2 separate regions of the Homo sapiens genome follow, and region 1 is linked to region 2. The links are contacts of gene promoters, found by promoter capture Hi-C in human tissues and cell types (Jung and others, 2019). All regions are on one chromosome and are shown on one strand. The core of a region is centred on a gene start or on the middle of the fragment in contact, and the rest is flanking DNA. Distances in the headings are between cores, read along the strand shown.

The links. Contacts are between HindIII fragments. The study calls those that stand out against the background at their distance.
Region 1: a contact is called between a fragment that was not itself captured here and the fragment with the promoter of ARSD in region 2, in 4 of the 25 tissues and cell types used here (aorta, pancreas, small bowel and 1 more).

What each region holds. Positions count from the first base shown.
Region 1 is chrX:2,853,237-2,857,952 of GRCh38, forward strand. GYG2 (glycogenin 2) reads left to right here. Exons shown (of 11, transcript NM_001079855.2): 4 at 744-918; 5 at 1,757-1,919; 6 at 3,262-3,388. Among named protein-coding and RNA genes, the nearest start is that of GYG2, 27 kb to the left of the region's middle. The HindIII fragment of the contact is 8,433 bases long and covers 1-4,716 here.
Region 2 is chrX:2,927,450-2,932,146 of GRCh38, forward strand. ARSD (arylsulfatase D) reads right to left here and starts at 1,890. Exons shown (of 10, transcript NM_001669.4): 1 at 1,783-1,890. The coding sequence starts at 1,826. RefSeq lists silencers at 1,378-1,537, 1,558-1,907. The HindIII fragment of the contact is 14,341 bases long and covers 1-4,697 here.

The sequences.
Region 1 (4,716 bases), core at 949-3,448, 74 kb before region 2:
GTCTCGCTCTGTTGCCCAGGTTGGAGTGCAGTGGTGCGATCTCAGGTCAGTGCAATCTCCGCCTCCCGGGTTCAAGCGATTCTCCTGCTTCGGCCTCCTGAGTAGCTGGGACTACAGGCGCCACCACACCTGGCTAATTTTTGTATTTTTAGTAGAGAAGGGGTTTCACCATGCTGGCCAGGCTGATCTTGAACTCCTGACCTCAAGTGATCCGGCTGCCTCGGCCTCCCAAAGTGCTGGGATTGCAGGCATAAGCCACCGCGCCAGGCCTTGCATGACTTTAAATATATGAATATGAAAATATTGAACTTAGAGTAATCATTGTGCTTTGTGTTGATTGAAAAATATAACAATGGCTATCAAAGAAGCATGTTCAAAGATGCTTAATTCACTTCAAAATGTCATACAAATTGTGGTGGTTTCTATGCACCTCTAAAGCTTCCGTCATTTAGCTCAGGTACATTACTAAAGTAATATATTAATTCTACCGGTACAGTGGGGTTTCACACCATTGGCATTTGCATTCAAGCATGCAGAGGCTTTTGGGCACAAGTGGACGGTGTGCACAGCTCTAAGCCATCCGTGGAAATGTGCTCTGAACATGGAGACCGCAGTGAGGGCTGTGGGGATTCTCTTTGCATTCCACGTTTGTGAGCAGCAAAACAGCACCCTCTTGAAGGAGGAGGTGGTTCTGTGCTGAATATTCACCCGCTGTCCCACTATTTGGCACATGTCTGTTCCAGGGTCATCCTCTCGAAGGTGTTCGATGAAGTCATTGAAGTGAATCTAATCGATAGTGCCGACTACATCCACCTGGCCTTTCTGAAGAGACCTGAGCTCGGGCTCACCCTCACCAAGCTTCACTGTTGGACTCTCACTCACTACAGCAAGTGTGTCTTCCTGGATGCAGACACTCTGGTGAGTGAAGACTCTCTGCTTGATAGGAAACCCTCCAAGACCACATCTCTATCCTTAAGCAGGCTGTCAACTTTTTTTTGTGTGTGTGTGACACAGTCGCTCTGTCACCCAAGCTGGAGTGCAATGGCACGATCTCGGCTCACTGCAACCTCCGCCTCCTGAGTTCAAGTGATTCTCCCACCTCAGCCTCCCGAGTGGCTGCTATTACAGGCACCCGCCTTCATGCCCGGTTAATTTTTGTATTTCTGTACAGACTGGGTTTCGCCATGCTGGCCGGGCTGTCACCTCTTACTGGTAGATTCCTGTGAGGCCATGTGCATTTCTATTTCTAACACAGATGTTCAGTCTATTATAATCAGGCATAACATACCCCCGAGCACTGTGCTAGACCCTGCTGAAGAGAACAGGGGATTGGAAGACATGTTCCTACCCCAGGAATGAATTATAACCACAGTATTTTACACGCACAAAATAGAATCATGAGGGAAAAAACTTGTGACTGGGCACAGTGGCTCATGCCTGTAATCTCAGCACTTTGGGAGCTTGAGATGGGTGGATCACTTGAGGCCAGGAGTTTGAGACCAGCCTGGCCAACACGGTGAAACCGTTTTTACTAAAAATACAAAAATTAGCCAGGCATGGTAACAGGTGCCTGTAATCCCAGCTACTCAAGAGGCTGAGGTGGGGGGATCGCTTGAACCCGGGAGGCGGAGGCCGCAGTGAGCCGAGACTGAAGCACTGCACTCCAGCCTGGGCGACAGAGCAAGACTCTGTCTCAAAAACAGAAGCATTGGTAAAAGAAGCATTGCGGCGGGTTCTGCGTGTTTTGCTTCACCAGGTGCTGTCCAATGTCGATGAGCTGTTTGACAGGGGAGAGTTTTCTGCGGCCCCGGACCCCGGATGGCCGGATTGCTTCAATAGCGGGGTGTTTGTCTTCCAGCCTTCTCTCCACACGCATAAACTCCTGCTACAGCACGCCATGGAACACGGCAGCTTTGACGGTAAGTCAGGGCAGCCCGGACGCTTAGGGTCTCTGTTGCACACACTCAACTCTGCAGATGTAACACGAAGTCAGCCGTTGACCATACAGTCACACCTCGCTCAGCGACAGGGATGCGGTCTGAGAAATGTGTTGTTAAGTGATTTTGTCATTGTATGAACGTCCCAGAGTGTATCTGCACACACCTGGATGATGTAGCCTACTGTATACCTAGGCTGGAGGGTACAGCCTATTCCTTCTAGGCTACAAACCCATATAGCATGGGAGTGCACTGAATGTTGTAGGCAACTGTAACATAATGGGAGGTATCTGTGTTCTAAACATACCTAAACATCACAAAGGTCCAGTGAAAATACAGTATAAAATCTTATGGGACCACCGTCAGATGTATGGTCTGTCTTTGACCGAAGCACTTTTATGTGTTGCATGACTGTACTTGGCATTGAACATGGGCTGGCCGTGGTGGCTCATGCCTGTAATCCCAGCACTTTGGGAGGCCAGGGCGGACAGATTGCTTGAGGCGAGGAGTTCAAGACCGGGGTGGGCAGATGGCTTGAGACCAGGAGTTCAAGACCAGCCTAGGCAACGTGGCAAGACCCCATCTCTACAAAAAATACAAAAATAAGCTGGATGTGATGCTGGCACCTGTAGTCCCCAAGCCCTGGGAGGCTGAGTTGGGAGCAGCAGCTGAGCTCAGGAGCTCAAGCCTACAGTGAGCTATGATTGCACCACTGCACTCCAGTCAGGTTGACAGAGTGAGACCCTGTCTCAGAGAAAAAGAAAAGAGCATGGCTGTGTTCCAATAAAACTTTATTTATAAAAACATGCACAGTGTGTAGTTGCTTGACCCATGGTAGAATATAGGGAGAATTAAAAGGAGGCAACCTGAAGCCGAGTATTTGTTGAAATGGGCGTCAGTAGAGAGGAAATGTGCTGGAATTTTTGTAAAGTAAAAGAAAATACTGGAGCAGTGAAGAATTGCCTCTAGGTAAAGGGGAAGTTAATGAAACTGGCAAAAATGATGGGAAAAGCATTGTCACTACCAGGGAGAATTCATTAGGGGACCAGTGGAATGCTTTGGACTCCATATGCAATTTTAGCATTCATTCTGGGGACTCCTGGTGGAGAATTTTGGAGGGAATATGCACTTATTTTTATCAATGGCTTGGGTTATCAGTCTTTTCTGAGAACCAAGAGAATGTGTGCAGCTGGCAGACAGAAGAAATGGAATTAGTAACCCTGAAGGCAAGTGTTTATGTTGAGAGCTTCAGGCACATCTCGCATTCTTGGAGTGAACCAAGCCATACTTTGCTAACCTGCTTTTGTGTTTGCTCATTATGTAGGGGCAGACCAAGGCTTACTGAATAGTTTCTTCAGGAACTGGTCGACCACAGACATCCACAAGCACCTGCCGTTCATCTATAACTTGAGTAGTAACACGATGTACACTTACAGCCCTGCCTTCAAGCAGTAAGTTCTCCACCCTGGCGAATCCTGCCAGATCTGCCACTACCGATCCACCTTCCCTCCTGGAAGACATACCAGCTGTCGGCATATTTAAAAACTCTATCTATCTATCTATCATCTATCTATCTATGTATCTATCTATCTATCTATCTATCTATCTATCTATCATCTATCTATCATCTATCTATCTATCACCTCTATCTAGGTAGATCTAAATATCTATTTATCTGTATAGATAGATACCTATGTCTATGTGTCTGTGTATCTAGATCTCTATGTCTATCTATATAGATATATATCTGTCTATATAGTTATCTACCTATATAGGCCTAGACATCTGTTTATCTATCTATCTATCTATCTATCTATCTATCTATCTATCTATCTATCCATATCTATCTATTTAGATCTGGATATCTATCTGTATACATAGATCTATATATCTATATCTATATATGTATCTATATCTAGATCTAGATATCTATATACATTGATCTATCTAATCTCTATATCTATGTAGATATTTATCTATCTATCTAGACCTAGATGTCTATCTATCTAGACCTAGATATCTATCTATCTAGACCTAGATATCTGTCTATCTGTCTAATCTATCATCTATCATATGTATCTATTCAGATAGATCTGGATATCTATCTATAAACATCTTATCTATCTATCTATCTAGATCTACATCACTATATAGATACCTATATCTATCTATCTAGAACTAGATATCTATGTATCTAGATATCCATCTAGATTTAGATCTTCATCCATATAGATATCTATATCTATCTATCTAGATCCAGATATCTATCTATATACATAGATCTATATATCTATATCTGTATATCTATCTAGATCTATCTAGATATCTATGTATATACATGGATCTATATATCTCTCTATGTATCTAGATCTAGATCTCTCTCTATATAGATCTATGTATCTAGATCTAGATCTCTATATAGGCATCTATCCATCTATGTAGATCTAGACATCTATCTATATATTAATACATAGATGTATCTATCTATATACGTCTTTATATATGTATATACACACACAGAAACACACACACACATCTCGTTTCCTGCTTGCTTGTTGCTGTAAATGATAGCTAGCCAAGGCTCTACGACAATGATCCCCAAAGTGTGGCCCAAGGAACCCTGACCCCACAACTCTTTCAAGTGTCTTCAAAGTCATAACTACTTTAAAAAAAGAATTTGAAGATGTGATTTTTTTCCCTTTTTGCTGCCATTTTCTCATGCATCTATGCTGAGAGTTTACAGACACTACATGGCATGTGATAAGGTAATACCCTGAAC
Region 2 (4,697 bases), core at 640-3,139:
CCCGGCCTAATTTTTGTATTTTTAGTAGAGACGGGATTTCACCATATTGGCCATGCTGGTCTCAAACTCCTGACCTCAGGTGATCCACCCGTCTCGGCCTCCCAAAGTGCTGGGATTACAGGCATGAGCCACCTCGCCTGGCGGGAAAATCCTAACTTTCCATGCCTAAGTAACAAAAGGACCGAAGGCTTCCCTTTGACCTTTTCTATTGGGTAGATAGTAGACTGGCTGTCTGCAACCAATCGGACTGATTTCGGGTCTAGTCTTCGTGTGCAACTTTGTGACTTCACCCTAGTCTCTGATTAGTTGGGTTTTGCAACCAATCAGATGTTTGCACAGGAGTGTGACCTTTGTAACTTCACCCTTTGGTTGGCTGCTGCCTGCAACCAATCAGACTGATCGCGGGCCACCACTTCAGTTACATGAGGTGAGCATGAAGTGGCCAATGGGAAACTTCTAGGGGGTATTTGGACCCAAGAAGATTATGTACCCGGGCCCTTGAGCCGCTGCTTGGTCGGCTCCCACACTGTGACGTGTCCTTTTGTTTTCAATAAATCCCTGCTTTCCTTCTTTTGTTGCTTCATTCTTTCTTTGCTGGGCGTTTTGTCCAATTCTTTGTTCAAAACGCCAAGAACCTGGACAACTTGCAGTCACGACCCTCTACCGGTGGCACTGGGGCGCAAATGAAGCTGGGAATGCAGGACCCGGCGCATCTGAGGAAGTGCAGCGGGGCATGGCGGTGCTAGAGGGTGGGGACATGGAGGCGGCACAAGGCCAAGGCGCCGGGGGATGGCCAGAGGGAAGTAACGGCCGCGCTTGTGGTGGAGATGGGGACGGGACAGAGAAGTCTTGGGGGGTGACCGGGGTAGGCACGGCGGTGCTGGGGGGAGGGCGCCCAATGAAGCCCACGGGGGGGAAAGGGGCGTGTCTTACCGAGCGTGTTGGGGGAGTCACAGCCGTGCTTGGGAGGATGGGGTCTGGGGGAAGGACGGGGCGCGTCTTAGTGGGATGAGGGGGAGGGCACAGCCGTGCTGGGAAGGCAAAGGGCCGGGGGGCGGGATGGAGCATGTCATGGTGGGGCCGAAGAGGCGGGGGGCGGGAAGGGGCCTTCTTAGAAATCGGGAGGGCGTCACAGCTGTGCTCGGGAGGACGGGGCGTTGGGGAGGGACAGGGAGCGTCTTAGTGGACCCGGGGAACACGGCCGTGCTGGAAGGCATCGAGCTGGGGGGTTGGGGGCGGGACGGGGTGCCTCTTAGGAAGTGGGGCGGGCAAGGCTACGCTTCGGGGGATGGAGCCTTGGGGCGGGACGGGGCGCGTCTTAGTGGGGCAGAGCGGGGGGCGCGGTTCGGGGCGGGTCTTAGGGAGCCTTTGAAGGCCGAATCCGGGCAGCGGTGTAGCTGGGCGTGGAAGGCGGAGGACCCAGCAGGGCGTGACCGGCCCAGTTTCCGCTCCCTCCGGGTCCCGGCCAGCCTTCCTCCGCCCTCCCTTCCCTTCCTCCTTTGTTCTCTTTCCCTGCCCTTCCGCCTTCCCTTCAGTTCGGTCTCCTCCACCCGCCCTTCGTCCCCTCAGTCGCCCCCCATCCCTGGGCTCTGCTGTCTGGCGTCTTTCCCGGGCACAGAACGCGCCTCCAGCTACATTTTGGAGACTACAAGGCGCCGGACACAACCACGCCCTTTACAGGGGCCCAGGCTCGCCCGGGGCGCCCCTCGCCGTGCTCGCGACCCCCTCCCCAGGCCCCCACCCTAGGCCTTAGTATGGGCCGCGTCCCGGGGTCCCAGGCACCTGGCGGCGGGCGCGGCGCGTCCCCTCCGCGCGGCGGATCGCATGGCCGAGCGCTGGCCCAGAGCGCAGGACCTTGCCCTGCGCACTCCGCGCCCGGGCGCCGCTAGTGCCAAGGCTTCCGCCCTCTCAGCTGCGGGATCTGGGCCGGGCGCCCGCCCCTCCTTCATCCGCGTCATCTCCTGGCTCTCGGGACCTCCGGGACCTGCGCGTGGAAACAGGTTTTCCCAGGTCGTCACACGGGAAGGCCTGGGCTAAGGAGCTGATTAAACCCAGTTACGATTGACCGGGCGCGGTGGCTCCCGCCTGGAATCCCAGCAGTTTGGGAGGCCAAGACGAGTGGGTCACCTGAGGTCAGGAGTTCGAGACCAGCCTGGCCAACCTGGTGAAACCCCGTCTCTACTAAAAATACAAAAATTAGCTGGGTGTGGTAGTTCACGTCTGTAGTCCCAGCTATTCGGGAGGCTGAAGCAGGAGAGTTGCTTGAACCCGGGAGGTGGAGGTTGCAGTGAGCTGAGATCGCGCCACTGCAACTCCAGCCTGGGCGACAGAGTGACACTCCGTCTCAAAAAATAAATAAATAAAAATAAAAAATAAACCCAGTTAGGCTTGAGCACAGGGAGCCCCTTTTCTTTTTGTCAGGAAGGGTCTTAGGACCTACCCAGAGCAATCAAGTTGCGATTTCAGTTTCTCAAAGCTTGGTGTTTGAAATGTCTGTTCCGGATGCTGGACTTGTACTCTAAGTCTGGGACGGGGAATGCTAGATGGGCCCTTTTTTTTTGCTTTTATTACTATTATTATTATTATTTTGAGATAGGGACTCACTCTGTCGCCCAGGCTGGAGTGCAGTGGTGCGATCTCGGCTCAGTGCAACCTCCGTCTCCTGGGTTCAAGCGATTCTCCTGCCTCAGCCTCCCGAGTAGCTGGGACTACAGGCGCGTGCCACCACGCCCGGCTAATTCCAATTGCTATTTTTATCTTTGTTTCTTTCATCAGACTGCTGTTGAAATTACTCCTTTTGATTAATCACTGTGCCCTGGACCCCTCCCCATCTTTTCTGTGACTCATCCTTTTGTTTTTGAATGATGCTATTTTGCTCATTACCCTCTCACGTAATGCTTTTTTTGTATCTTTGGCTCTCCCTTTGTTGTTTGTTTGTTTTGTTTTTAACTCTTTTGACCTCTAGAAAGATCAAGGCTGAGAGTTGAGGCTGCAGTGAGCCTTTGTTTTTGTCTAACTCTCTTGACCTCCAGTCGCTGATTCTCTCAAGCCCCTTCATGTCTTACCTCATCCCCTCACATCCCCTCACAATGCAAGATCTGGTCAAAGTATAAATTCATATTTTGTAGGAAATGCTAGCTTACAAAACAATATCACATCCCTACCTCCAGCCCAGGTGACCCACTTTCCCTCAAAGGGGGTTGCTTAGGTCCTCTTCCACTGGTCAGGGACAAAATGATTCCATAGTCTTCAAGATTAACAGTACTTTCTTTTTCCAAGGCTGAGGCTGTCAAGGGTGAGGCTGTCACCGCCTCCCAAGGAAGTGGAACTACCGGTGTGCACCACCACCCCTGACACATTTTTGTTAATTTATTTTTTTGCTAGAGACTAGGTCCCACTATGTTGCCTAAGCTGGTCTCAAACTCTTGCCTCAAGCAGTCCTCCTGCTTTGGCCTCCCAAAGTACTGGGATTACAGGTGAGCCACTGTGCCTGACCAGCCACAAGACTCTATGTTGGGTGTGTAGGTGGGAAGCATATCCAGGTCCTCCTCACCATTATTCTGCCTCCAACATTTATGCCATTTTTTTTTCCTTTGCAACTCAGTTCTCTATGCTTACCAAATGGAATCAGTAAGGTAGGGGAGGCGGGGTGGAAGTTTGTGTTGAAAACATAGATTCAGAAGCCCCTCCTTAAATTCACTGAGTTAGGATTTTCATAAATGAGGGAGCTGCCCCACACTCCCCTGGGATGAGATGATGGGGGTGCTTGTTCAAGACAATACAGTCAGGAGCCCTACTCCCTAAATTTATTCAATTGGAATCTCCCAAAATGGTGCTGGGAATTCTATTTAGAAAAAAGACCATTCACTTTTAATTGGCAAATTTAGTTCATTTACATTTATTACGCTGGCCATCTGTCTGGAGCTAGCTCTTGAGCACTGTTTATTGCTTCTCTCTTTGCCCTGTTACTCTGAAATAGCTTTTATCAGACAGGCTTGGTGGCTCACACCTGTAATCCCAGCACTTTGGGAGACTGAGGGGGAAGGATTGCTTGAAACCAGGAGTTTGAGAACAGCCTGCGAAACACAGAGAGACCCTGTCTCTACAAAAAAATTTTTTTAAGTTAGCCGGGCATGGTGGTGTGCCTGTAGTCCCAGCTATTTGGGAGGCTGAGGTGGGAGAGTCATCTGAGTGCAGGAATTTGAGGTTGCAGTGAGCTGATTGCACCGTTGCACTCCAGACTGGGTGACAGAGCAAGACCCTGTCTCTAAAAAAATTTAAAAAAGAACTTTTTTATCTTTGAGGGCTTCCCAACTGGGATTCCTTGCTGAGCCTCTGTCATGCAGATGGAGAAGGCCAGGCCGAGGCCTGGAAGGAGGGGGGCAGGAGACAGCCCAGAAGCAGTTCTGCAAGGAGGTTTAGCAGGGGTGGCGCGGAGATTTGATCCTTGGAAGAAATCCTATGCTGCTGGGAGTTGAGATTCCTGAGAACTAGAGAGAAAAGAACTTTGGGTGCCCTTAGGTAAATTATGTAAACACACTGAGCTGTCTTGGGTGCCCAGGATTTGGAAATGGGGCCTGGGGGCAGTAGGAGCTGGTGCTCCAGAAGTCATATTTGCGGGAGGTTGTGGGGATGGAAAGGGTGGGTAAGCCCTGACCCTGAGGGTCTCACATGACTTTCAGCACATGGAGCCTCCA